2 separate regions of the Homo sapiens genome follow, and region 1 is linked to region 2. Evidence: promoter capture Hi-C in 16 types of primary human blood cells and fetal thymus (Javierre and others, 2016). All regions are on one chromosome and are shown on one strand. The core of a region is centred on a gene start or on the middle of the fragment in contact, and the rest is flanking DNA. Distances in the headings are between cores, read along the strand shown.

Region 1 (5,245 bases), core at 1,110-3,609, 110 kb after region 2:
TCCATGCCTATGGGAGCCGAAAGCTGAGTTCTCCCGCTAAGAGCAGGGTGGGACACTCAGGAGACCGTGTTCTGTTCGGTGGGGACCTCGCAGCTTCAGAGTGGGGTGGAGAGCTCAGGAGGAGGTTATCTTCAAATCGCTGGGGAGAGTCAGTAAAAAGTCCTAAAAGGAAAGCTTAGCTGGATCACTTTTCCTTGCTGTCTTGGGAAAATTTAAAAGAGAAGCCAAACCAAATTCATGAAAAGTCTGGGTGCGGAAAGAGATGCAATTGACTTGGGTTAAAAAAAAAGTCAATTTTTCTGATTATAAAAGCATTAAAAATATATGGGACAGGACTACAGCATTAAGCTTGTTGAAGAAGATTTAGAAGAAATATGGAAGAGTAAATCACCATAATCTTGCTACCTAGAACAACTTTTCTGAAAAATGGAAACAAGCTCTCACTATGTTATCCAGGCTGGACTCAAAATCCTGGGCTTAAGCAATCCTCCTGCCTCAGCCTCCTGAGTAGCTGGGACTACAGGAACATGCCACTGCAACTGGCTAGAATAACTTTATTTTTAATTAAGAATAAGTTAAAATAACCACTAACTAAACATTGCCAGTTCAGTTGACCCTCTCTTAGTATATAGATCAGAATGGTTTGTTATTAATATATACATGGTTTATATACAAACAGAGAGAAAGCTGGTCTCTAAAGTTTCTTGAGGACGTTGATGTCTCCTTTCTAGTTTGGCTTACCTATGAATTTCCTTGTTAAACCCTTTTTAAAAATAAATGATATTATGGTAAACTTTATTTTGGTTATTGTTAAGGTAATGCAAAAGTAAGCTGAATGCAATGCACCTATGTCCCAGTTATTCGGGAGGCTGAGGCAGGAGGATCGCCGGAGGCCAGGAGTTCAAGACCAGCCTGAGCAACACAGTAGGACTGCCCCCCCATCTCTCTTTTTTTTTTCCTTTTAAAGTAATGAGGCTTTGGTATATGGCCTATACTGCTAATATAGTTGCAATATTTCAAATAAGGTGCTTATAAGGTGCAGTATTTCCAGAAGAGATCCAAAGTTGCACATAATTGTTGGGGGGAAGGTCTAGGGGAAGAGAAAGAACCCAACTAATAGTCATTCTCCAGCTCGGTCATCTGTTAACCAACAGAGAGAACATTTAAACTTTTGAACTTCAGCTTCCCTTTCTGTAACATGGAAGGGTGGGACACAGCAGTGGTTCTCACCCAGGGAGTCCATTAGAATTGCACTGGAGAGCTTTTGAAAATATGCATGATGGCCAGGCATGGTGGCTCACGCCTGTAATCCCAGCACTTTGGGAAGCCGAGGCAGGTGGATCACCTGAGATCAGGAGTTCGAGACCAGCCTGGCCAACATGGTGAAACCCTGTCTCTACTAAAAATACAAAAAATTAGCGGGACATGGTGGCGCACCTGTCATCCCAGCTACTCGAGAGGCTAAGGCAGGAGAAACGATTGAACCCAGGAGGTGGAGGTTGCAGTGAGCCAAGATCACACCACTGCACTCCAGCCTGGGCAACAAGAGCGAAACTGCGAGAAAAAAAAGAAAAAGAAAGAGAGAGAAAGAGAGAGGGAGGGAGGAAGGAAGGAAGGAAGGAAGGAAGGAAGGAAGGAAGGAAGGAAGGAAGGAAGGAAAAGAAAATATGCACATGTGGTCGCCTCTGGGGCATTTTGTCCCAATGGGCCTCCCGCAATTGAGGTAGGGAAAGGAAGATCTTTGTTACTTTGAAAACGCTCCCCAGACCATGGTAGGTTGAAGGAGACTTGCCCCAGCTTGAGCCAATTGTAAAATTTGCCGGAATTTTGTGAGCTGGTAGCTAAAAGAGTCACTATTTAAAAATTTAAAATCATAAGCTTACAATTAAATAAATTATATTACCACAAAAGTAATAAATACTCAAAACTCATCACTTCCTAGTTGTTTTAATACATTCAACTTCCTAATTGTTTTAGCATTTTTTACTTCCTGATTGTGTTAGTACATTTTACTGGTACCTATGCTCTAGAAGTTGTTTGCACCTATTGTATCTGGAGGGTGGAAATACTATACAATGGTGTGGTGTTTCACATCTCTGCCAATGCTGGCAGCTTGAAATCAGCTACTGTGGGAGTATTTACACCACAGAAATGGGCAGATGCTAGGAATCAGGAGATTTTTCCCTTCTGGTGATCCAGTTTGTGGTTAAACATTCCTCAACATGTTACTGTCCCCGATGTGATGTAGGCTTAATTCAGAAGTGTGATCCTGGGCTCCTTTTAAATAACTTTGATCTGAAGATGAGGCTTCTATGCTTTCACTTGCTGAGATGCTAGCGCCTCCTGGTGTGACTGGTTTTGTGGCTGCAAAGTCTCTTTCTCCAGTTTCTTTTAAAGGAGAGCCATGTTTGCTCTGTTCTTCCTGGCACTGAAGTAGCAGGTGTGTTTGTGCAGGTCTTTAAGGTACCCTTAAAGTAAACAGCCTTGATAAAATCTTTTTTTCCTCTTTTCTTCATTCTTCTGTTACTTGTATTGATCCAGGTCTTTCTACAGGCACAGAGTATGCTGGCTGTGTTTGTACATTTTTGCAAATAGATAATCGTGGAAGTCTATTCTATAGAAACAGCCTTTATGACTATGAACTGTAACCAAGGGGGTGGCAAGCAACTTCCTCTCCTTTGAGATTTTGGTGTATGGAAGGTTTCCACTTAAACTCCTTTCTACAGCGTGGCCTTCTCTTTTGTTGCTGTATTTGGAATGCATACCAGCTGTCACAGGGCAATAATCCCGGAGATGAAATCAATTCTCTTAATGGCCTTTTATGGAAAGTTCAAGCTTGCCTTGGGTTGGTATATTTTTAGCTTCAGGTATATTTTTTGGCGTATTAAGGGAATAAGGCTCCCATGCATGGATTGTGTGTGAACTGTTGAGAAGTTAATTGGTGTTCAAAGTGAGCCCTGTGTGTTGCCAAGGTATTGGGGGTGTCTGGTAAATGGCACACTCTTCCTGCCCAAATTCTGAACCAAATGAAAGGTGAAAAAAGGCATGAGGCCAATGGAGTCGCAAAGACCGTTTTTGTTGTTGTTGTTGTTTTTGAGATGGAGTCTGGCTCTGTCGCCCAGGCTGGAGTGCAGTGGTGTGATCCTGGCTCACTGCAACCTCCGCCTCCCGAATTCAAGCAATTCTCCTGCCTCAGCCTCCTGAGTAGCTGGGATTACAAGTGCCCACCACCATACCTGGCTAATTTTTGTATTTTTAGTAGAAACGGGATTTCACCATGTTGGCCAGGCTGGTCTTGAACTCCTGACCTCAGGAGATCCATCCGCCTTGGCCTCCCAAAGTGCTGGGATTACAGATGTGAACCACTGTGCCTGGCCCAAAGACTGCCTTTATTCCAGCCCAAAGACTACGTTTATAACTGACAGTCTAGGTTGGAGAATGTGGCTTATATCTTTGGGCAAATAAGCTCCCTAATACAGAAGTCCAATTTTGGCGTGGGGGGTGGGTGGGGTGGGCGTGGGGGGTGGGTGGGGTGGGCGTGGGGGGTGGGTGGGGTGGGTGTGGCGGAACTGGACAGACCCCTACTCCACCCCACAGGGATGAGCCCATCCTTGGAGGAGCCCAGCCCTGGAAGTGCCAGTCACTCCTGAGAGTAAATCGAGATGCAGGACCTCTTACTGCCCATGACCCAGGTCTCCTTTCAAACCTACCAATCAGGATGCTAGACGTGCATGATGGGCAGAGCAAGCCAGGGGTTATGCTAATGAGCTCCCTCCCCTGGATGGGATCCTGTGGGTTTCCTTCTTCCCATGGGCACCCCCAACCTGGCCTGGCCAACAGACACTGCAAACAGGCGCCCTTACCTGCAGCAGCTCAGGAAAACTCCTCTATTTGAAAGCTGAGCTCTGTCTGTATTAGACTAAGTTTATGGAATGGAAAAGGGTAGATGGTCATTTCAGAGTGACTTTGGGGGGAAAAAACTCAGGATATTGTAATTAAAGTTGGTTATACCAAGAAAGTCAAAAGTTCTGGCCTTCATTACCCTTAAGTGATGACGCTTGTGTGAATTGCATCCCCCCCACCTCAAAATTCATGCCCACCTGGGACCTCAGAATGTGACTTCATTTGGAAATAGGGTATTTCTTTATGGATGTAGTCAGGTTAAGATAATGTCATACTGGGTTAGAGGGGGCCCTAAATCCAGTATGACTGTATCCTTATAACAAGAGGAAAATTTGGACATGGAGACACAGACATGGAGGATACCGTGTGATGATGAAGGCAGAGATTAGAATTATGTTGCCATGAGCCAAGGAACAGCAAGGATTCCCAACAAACACCAGGAGCTGGAAGAGGCAGGAAAGGCTTATTTCCTAGAGACTTCAGAATGGTCCAGCAGTTGGCCACCCATGTGGACCCCTTGAGGAAGGAAGAGGGAGATTTTCTTTGGGAGGAGAGATGATGGAGGAATGGGCAAAATCCAGGTGGCACTGGGGATGTTGCTGGATTGTGTGGGTGATGGCAGAGGTGGGATATCTTATGGTTCCATCTCTACTGAGGCTCTGAGCCTCCTGGACACTTGCAGCCCTCCCAGCCCATCACCTGCATCCTTCATTTTGCAGTGAAAGTACCAGAATCCACATGGTTGCTGTGGAGGGTCATCAGGCAGGCCCCCAAAGGTTATTCGGGGCCCAGGAAGCCACTCTGTCTCCACACTCAAGTCCAGCACCCCTCCCCTCCACTCTCTTCCCAAGCTTAGTCTTTAGCAGGAAGGAAAAATGGATGAGACTCAGTTTAACCACACATTACAGAAGGGCTGGGAAAGGGTTGTGGGGGAATGGGGCAGGTTTTTTATGATAGTCATTCTAGGGTGCTCTTGCATCCTTCCAGATGCTTCTGTATAGCCAACAGCTCATTCGAGGCCTTGGACAGGTGCTCTGCCATTGCTCTTAGCATTGTGGAGGGCTGGGGACAGGAAGCCTGAGTTGCAGGTCTTGCTGTGTCATTGCCAGTTTTCATACTGAAGGTAACAGAATGCACTGTCAAGAGAAGTTTCTGTTCTTGGAGATTTGAGACCATTTCCTGACAGCTGGTTTGTTGGAGATAGAACTTGTGTCAAATAGGGTCTGAGGCAAGGTGGTCCACGTTGGGTGAACAATCGGTGGAAGTCAACTGTACACATGTGGGCGCAGGCGCTGCCTCATGGAACGAGTCCTTGTGCAGGGGCCAGGCAGACATTAGCAGA
Region 2 (5,076 bases), core at 1,562-4,061:
TTTCTATTTCCAAAGGGGGCAGAAGGCAGTGAGTGCCCTCTCGTCCGGATTCCACACCTGCTTTGTTGCATGCGGTTAAGGAACGGCTCTTCCCAGCAAACCAGTTACCACCACGCCTCCCCGGAAGGAGACTCAGAAAACCGAATGTTCTTTTAATTTCCCCTAAAACATCAACCGGAGTGGAATCATCCCTAGTTCTCTGCCAAGGGGTCACCATTGAGCGGACAAGTAGCGACGACCTTGGGCAACAGCTCTCAGCTGGAGGGGCTGGGACTGGGGTATCTTTGCCACGTTCCGAGTAGGAAAGGGAGGAACCTGCCCTGGGCTGAAGGACCGCTGCGCCCGAGAGGAGAGCGCCCCGCGGCCGCGCGGTAGGGCCGGGTGGCACAGGAGAGGCCTAGGGTCCGCTTCCAGCCCCCTCCGCTGCCGGGTGCTCCCGGGTCAGCCCGCGCCTGGCTCCTGGGCCGGGGAGCCGCGGGGCTGGAGGCCGCGCTTGCAGACCAGCCCTCTGCGCTCCACCGGGGAGGGGCCGAGAAGCGCAGCTCCAGACCCAGCGGCCAGCACAAATAACAGGCTTGGCAGAGGCGAACGCAAAAGGTCGAGCTTTCCGATTTCGAGTAGAGTGCCTGGTGGGGATGGCGCTATGGAAGCGCCCTGCGGCCTAGGGACACCTGTCGCCTGCTCTGCCCCGACCGTCCGGCGCCCTGCGGCGGAAGTTGTCTCCCTACCTCGGCACTGGCTCCCGGGGCTCCAGAGGCCGGCGCAGCCCTCCCAGCTCCTGGGCCCAGAGGACCCACCAGAACCCTGAGCAGCGCGCCTCCCAGCAAAGAGTCAAATCCTTCGGGCCAGGCCGCAGCGACCCCGCTGGGAGCAGAGGCTCTGGAAGACGCGGCCCGGAACGCTTGGGACGCCAAAAACGCTCAGACCTGCTGCTCGGAGGTGCCTGGCCGGGCAGCCACTGTCACCAGCGGCAACCGGCGTGGGCGGCGGGGCAGCCCACCCAGCGCGCCACTATTTCTTCCTGTTCCGAGTCTTCCGCACCGCGGGTCCCAGCGCCCCTGGCCCACTGGCACATTTTCAATCCTGAAAAGAACGGCAGCGCTCAGCTCTGTCTGCCATTTTCGAATTAATCGGACCCCTCTCTTTCAGCCGGGTCTCAGCTCAGCAACGGCGGGGGCGGGTCTCTCCTGCCCGGACTTCCCGCACCCCAGCCTCACGAGAGGGCCCGGCTCAGCACAAGTGTTCGCTCTGTGGCCTCAGCCTGCAGTGCTTGGGCCTCACCGTGATCCCCGCTGACTCGCAGCGCCTGAAGCTGACCCTCCTTCACCTCCTCCAGAAGAGACAAAAAGAGGGAGGAATGAAGGAAAAATAAAGGGAATCGTAGAAAGAAAAGGAGGAAGGGAAGGAGGGATAAAGAAAGGAAGGGATGGGGAAAGAAAGAAAGCAAAACCAGAGTGAACTTCCAAAGAAAGGAAGGAAAGCAGAAAAGGAAAGAAAACAAACCAATGCATTGGCAAAGGAAGGAAGGAAGGAGGGAGGGAGAGAGGGGGCCAAGGAAGGAAGGAAGGGGAGAATGAAAGAAAGAGGAAGAAAGAAAGAAAAAGAAAGAGAAAGAAAGAAAGAAAGGAAAGAAAGAGAGAAAAAAATCCAAACCAAACCAGAATGCACTGGCGAAGGAAGGAAGGAGGAAAGGGAGAAAGAACAAAACCAGAAAGAACTCGCTGGCCGTGCGGGCTGGGGGACTGCCTGCCCCTGGAACAATTCGTAATTCGCCCTCACCCAGCCCTGGACCAGGAGAGGGTTTGGTCGCCTGGGCCGCCAAGGCCCTGGCCCCTCGCCCCAAGCCAGCGCCGAAGCCGAAGACCCTCACGCAACCTCCCTCAGACGCCCCAGCTCTGGACGCCAGGCCGCGGCAACCCCTCTGGGCGGGCTGGCTTGCGCTTCCCGCCTGGGCCGGGGCCGCCGGGCTCCCCAGCGTCCCCGGCCGCCCACCTGAGGCCTCACCTTCGGGGAAGACGGCGCGCATCTTCAGGTAGCTCGTGGTGAGGCGGATGATGGACGCTTTGTCCAGCTGCGAAGTGATGGCCGACGGCAGCGGGAGCAGCTTGGCAAGCTCGTAAAACTCGCCATTTTCCTTCTCCCTCCTGGTCTTGGCCGCATTCTTGGACTTCTCCTTCATCGCGCCTCGGCTCCGGGCATATTAGACCCGGCCGTGCTCCAGGCCCGCGGAGCCCCGCTCGGGCTGCGGCGGCGGGGATGGGGAAGGGGGAGCCGGGAGCCAGGTGAGTCCGCGGAGTGGGCCGCGGGCAGGTGCGGGGGGCCTCCCGGGGTTCCGAGACGCCTCCCCGCAGCCGCCGGGCCTGAGCTCCGAGCAACCCGGCGGCGCCGCCCGCCGCTGCCCGGAGCGCAGCCTCCTCCGGGCTGGACCGTCCTGCAGCAACCGGAGCCCCGTTCCTGCTCGCTCCTGTTTCCTCCCTCCTGCCTCTCCTGCCTCGGCCTTCCTGGGGGGTGGGGGCGGCCGGCGCGGAGGCGGAGGCGCTGCTTACTCCTTCGTCGAGTGCTCGAACCGGCTGCGGCAAGGCCCCTCCGGACCGGAGGGCGACAGGGGCGGCGGTGGCCGCGGAGCCATGGAGCGGGAGCCCAGCGGAGGGGAGCGAGTCGCAGGCGGCTGGGGCCGGGCCCTGGCCCGGGCGCGCTCTCCTGCCCTTCCTGGCGGCTCCCTGTGCCTGGAGACGCAGCGCCGGAGCCCGCGATGTGTGGCTAGGCGCAGCACCTCCGCTGTCCACGTGCGGCCGAGCCGCGTTTGTTTATGGCAGACCCGCCTTCGGGCGGAGCACTGGCCGCCTGGGTCCCGGAGGGGGGAGCGGGAGGGGGGAGGGACCGCGGCGGGGGCGGGGGCGGCGAATCTTGCCTCCGACCCCGCCGCGGCCCTGGAGTCACAGGCGCGCCTCCGCGTCGCTGCCTCCAGGGACTCTCCCGGGAGAGACCCGCGCGCTCCCGGGTTCGGGGAAGTCGCGGTGAGTGCACACGGCGCGCCGCGGGGACCCGCTCCTGAGCGCCGGTCGCCGGACCCCGGAGCTAGGATGGGCGGCAGGGAGGGCGAGGGAAGGAGGGGTGCCGAGGCCGCCCCTGTGGCTCTCGGGAAGGTCACCAGCAGGCGCGGCCGAGAGGAGGCGGCGCGACTCGTTGGCCAGGCGCCCTGCCGGGGAGGATCGAGCCTTCCGAGGGTGCGCTGGTCCCGCGTCCTCGCCCTCCCGGTGTTGCAGGTCCAAGAGCTGAAAAGGGGAAAGCCGGGAGCCCCCCTCCCCCCATTACACACACACGTGAAAACGGCGCGAGTGGCTCCGAAGTGACCCTTCTGCCCTTTCTGTCCTCGAAACACTAAGGTGCAAAGAGATTGTCGCCTTCTCAGGAGGAGCGGGAGGCCGCAGGGGCGCTCAGGCCAGGGGAAGGGAGGGGCCAGGGAGCCCAGCCGAGTGGTGAGGCCTCTCCCAGGGCGCCGGCGGAAACAGGGCCCAACTGCCGGGGCGGCGGCAAAAGCAGCCCGATTCAGCGCAGCCGGAATTTTGAGGAATCGGCGTTGGGCGATTAAGGGCCAAGGTCGCTGAGCCAGGGTCACAGGGTGGGCGCAGGTGGCGCAGGTGGGGCCCATGGTGATGGGGCAGAAGGCAATTGGAGAAAGAAGACTCCGTTGCAGACGCGGCCACTGGGCATTCTGGACTCTCCTTCAGGGTCATTTTGGACCTAAAGAGTCCTTTTGTCCCCCCTCTGCCCTCCCCTGTCCGGCTCCCGCAGCCTGGAAATGGGTGTGCGGCCCAGGAGTCCTCCGCGCACCCCTGCAGCGGCGGTCACATAACCCCACCTCTTCCAGGAGTGCAGCTTTCCCGGCCCCCCAGGCCAGAGACAGGCTCAGAGGACGCAGGGCAATTCCTTACCTTGGCGTCGAGATCATGTGGGGACTCTCGGCCGTGTGCCACAGGCTGCAGAGCCGTGGAGCAGTGGGGTGCGTGACCTGGAGGTCAGCAGGGGCCGGGAGGACACCGGGCCGCGGATGGGGGCGCGGAGATTTGGGTTCTCGGTGTCACTGCTCTCGCCACTGGCCCGGGATCATGAGCCTGCTGCTCCGAAAACTCGCCGTCGGACAGCGACTGAGTATCCGCTTCCCTCCCCTGGCCCTCCCCTGCGCCAGGAAGGCCTGGCCTTCGGCAACCGTGCCTGCAGCAGGCGCTCCTGACCTTTTCCAGGGACTCCTTTGAAGGTCAAAAGTTCGAAGGCGTTCGAAGCCGAGCAGGCTCCCTCCAGGGGCTGGAAGGTGTGCGCAAACCCGGGCTCTCCCCCTGCCTGTCCCTAGCCCCTTGCGGAGTCCACATCGTGGCCAGGGCTCGCAGGCTTGGTGCTCCGAAACCGCGACGCCACGCGAGCCGGACGCACAGAGTAACAGCGCTTTCCTTTGGGGTTTCGGATCCAGGAGCGCTTTCCTGTTGCAGCGGCTTGAGCAGAGGGCCATGGGCTAGCGGCGCGGGTCTCCAATGCCCAAGCCTGGCGAGTCGGACCCACCTCCGCGCCCAGGATCCCGCTCCTGGCTGCGCTGACAGCTGCCGGCTCCGGGCCTCTGGGAGAAGGAGCTCCAAGGGGTTAGAGGCTACGGACCCAGCCCCTGCCGCAGCTTCCGCAGGCGGCCCCCTGAGCCCGCTCTGGCACCTCCTGGGCTTCGGGAGGATTTAATGCGTTTCTCACCCCCACGGCTTCCGACCCTCAATTATGGACCCGGGAGAATTCCTCCTGGGCTTGAAAGGGATTACCCAGATCGCAGAAACATGGCTAAGTGGAAGTGGGAGAAACCCGACAAGTAACAAGAACGGAAACTTTCCTCAAGGCAAATTTCCCGGATTTTACGGGAAAGCGCACTTATCTTCCCAGGGACAGCCTCTGTTCACGTGTCCGCGAGGCAGGTTCGAAGCGCGCTACGGGAGGCAGAGCAATGCCGTGTTTGAAGACTGGAAGATACGTGGGTGTGAGATACCTCCAGGCCCAACGCCTGCCCAGCAGCTGCCCAAGCAGACGTTGTGTACTCGG

What was found. The method cuts DNA at HindIII sites, captures the fragments that hold promoters and counts their contacts. A CHiCAGO score of 5 or more calls a contact.
Region 1: a contact is called between a fragment that was not itself captured here and the fragment with the promoter of SIM2 in region 2, in 1 of 17 cell types (naive CD4 T cells). The highest score is 5.6, in naive CD4 T cells.

Annotation. Positions count from the first base shown.
Region 1 is chr21:36,582,277-36,587,521 of GRCh38, reverse strand. No RefSeq gene overlaps it. Among named protein-coding and RNA genes, the nearest start is that of CLDN14, 100 kb to the right of the region's middle. The HindIII fragment of the contact is 957 bases long and covers 1,881-2,837 here.
Region 2 is chr21:36,696,850-36,701,925 of GRCh38, reverse strand. SIM2 (SIM bHLH transcription factor 2) reads right to left here and starts at 2,811. Exons shown (of 11, transcript NM_005069.6): 1 at 2,005-2,811. The coding sequence starts at 2,179. LOC105369308 (a long non-coding RNA gene) reads left to right here and starts at 2,935. Exons shown (of 3, transcript NR_188246.1): 1 at 2,935-3,017. LOC107985492 (a long non-coding RNA gene) reads right to left here and starts at 1,410. Exons shown (of 4, transcript XR_001755029.1): 1 at 1-1,410. RefSeq lists enhancers at 398-990, 991-1,584. The HindIII fragment of the contact is 14,642 bases long and covers 1-5,076 here.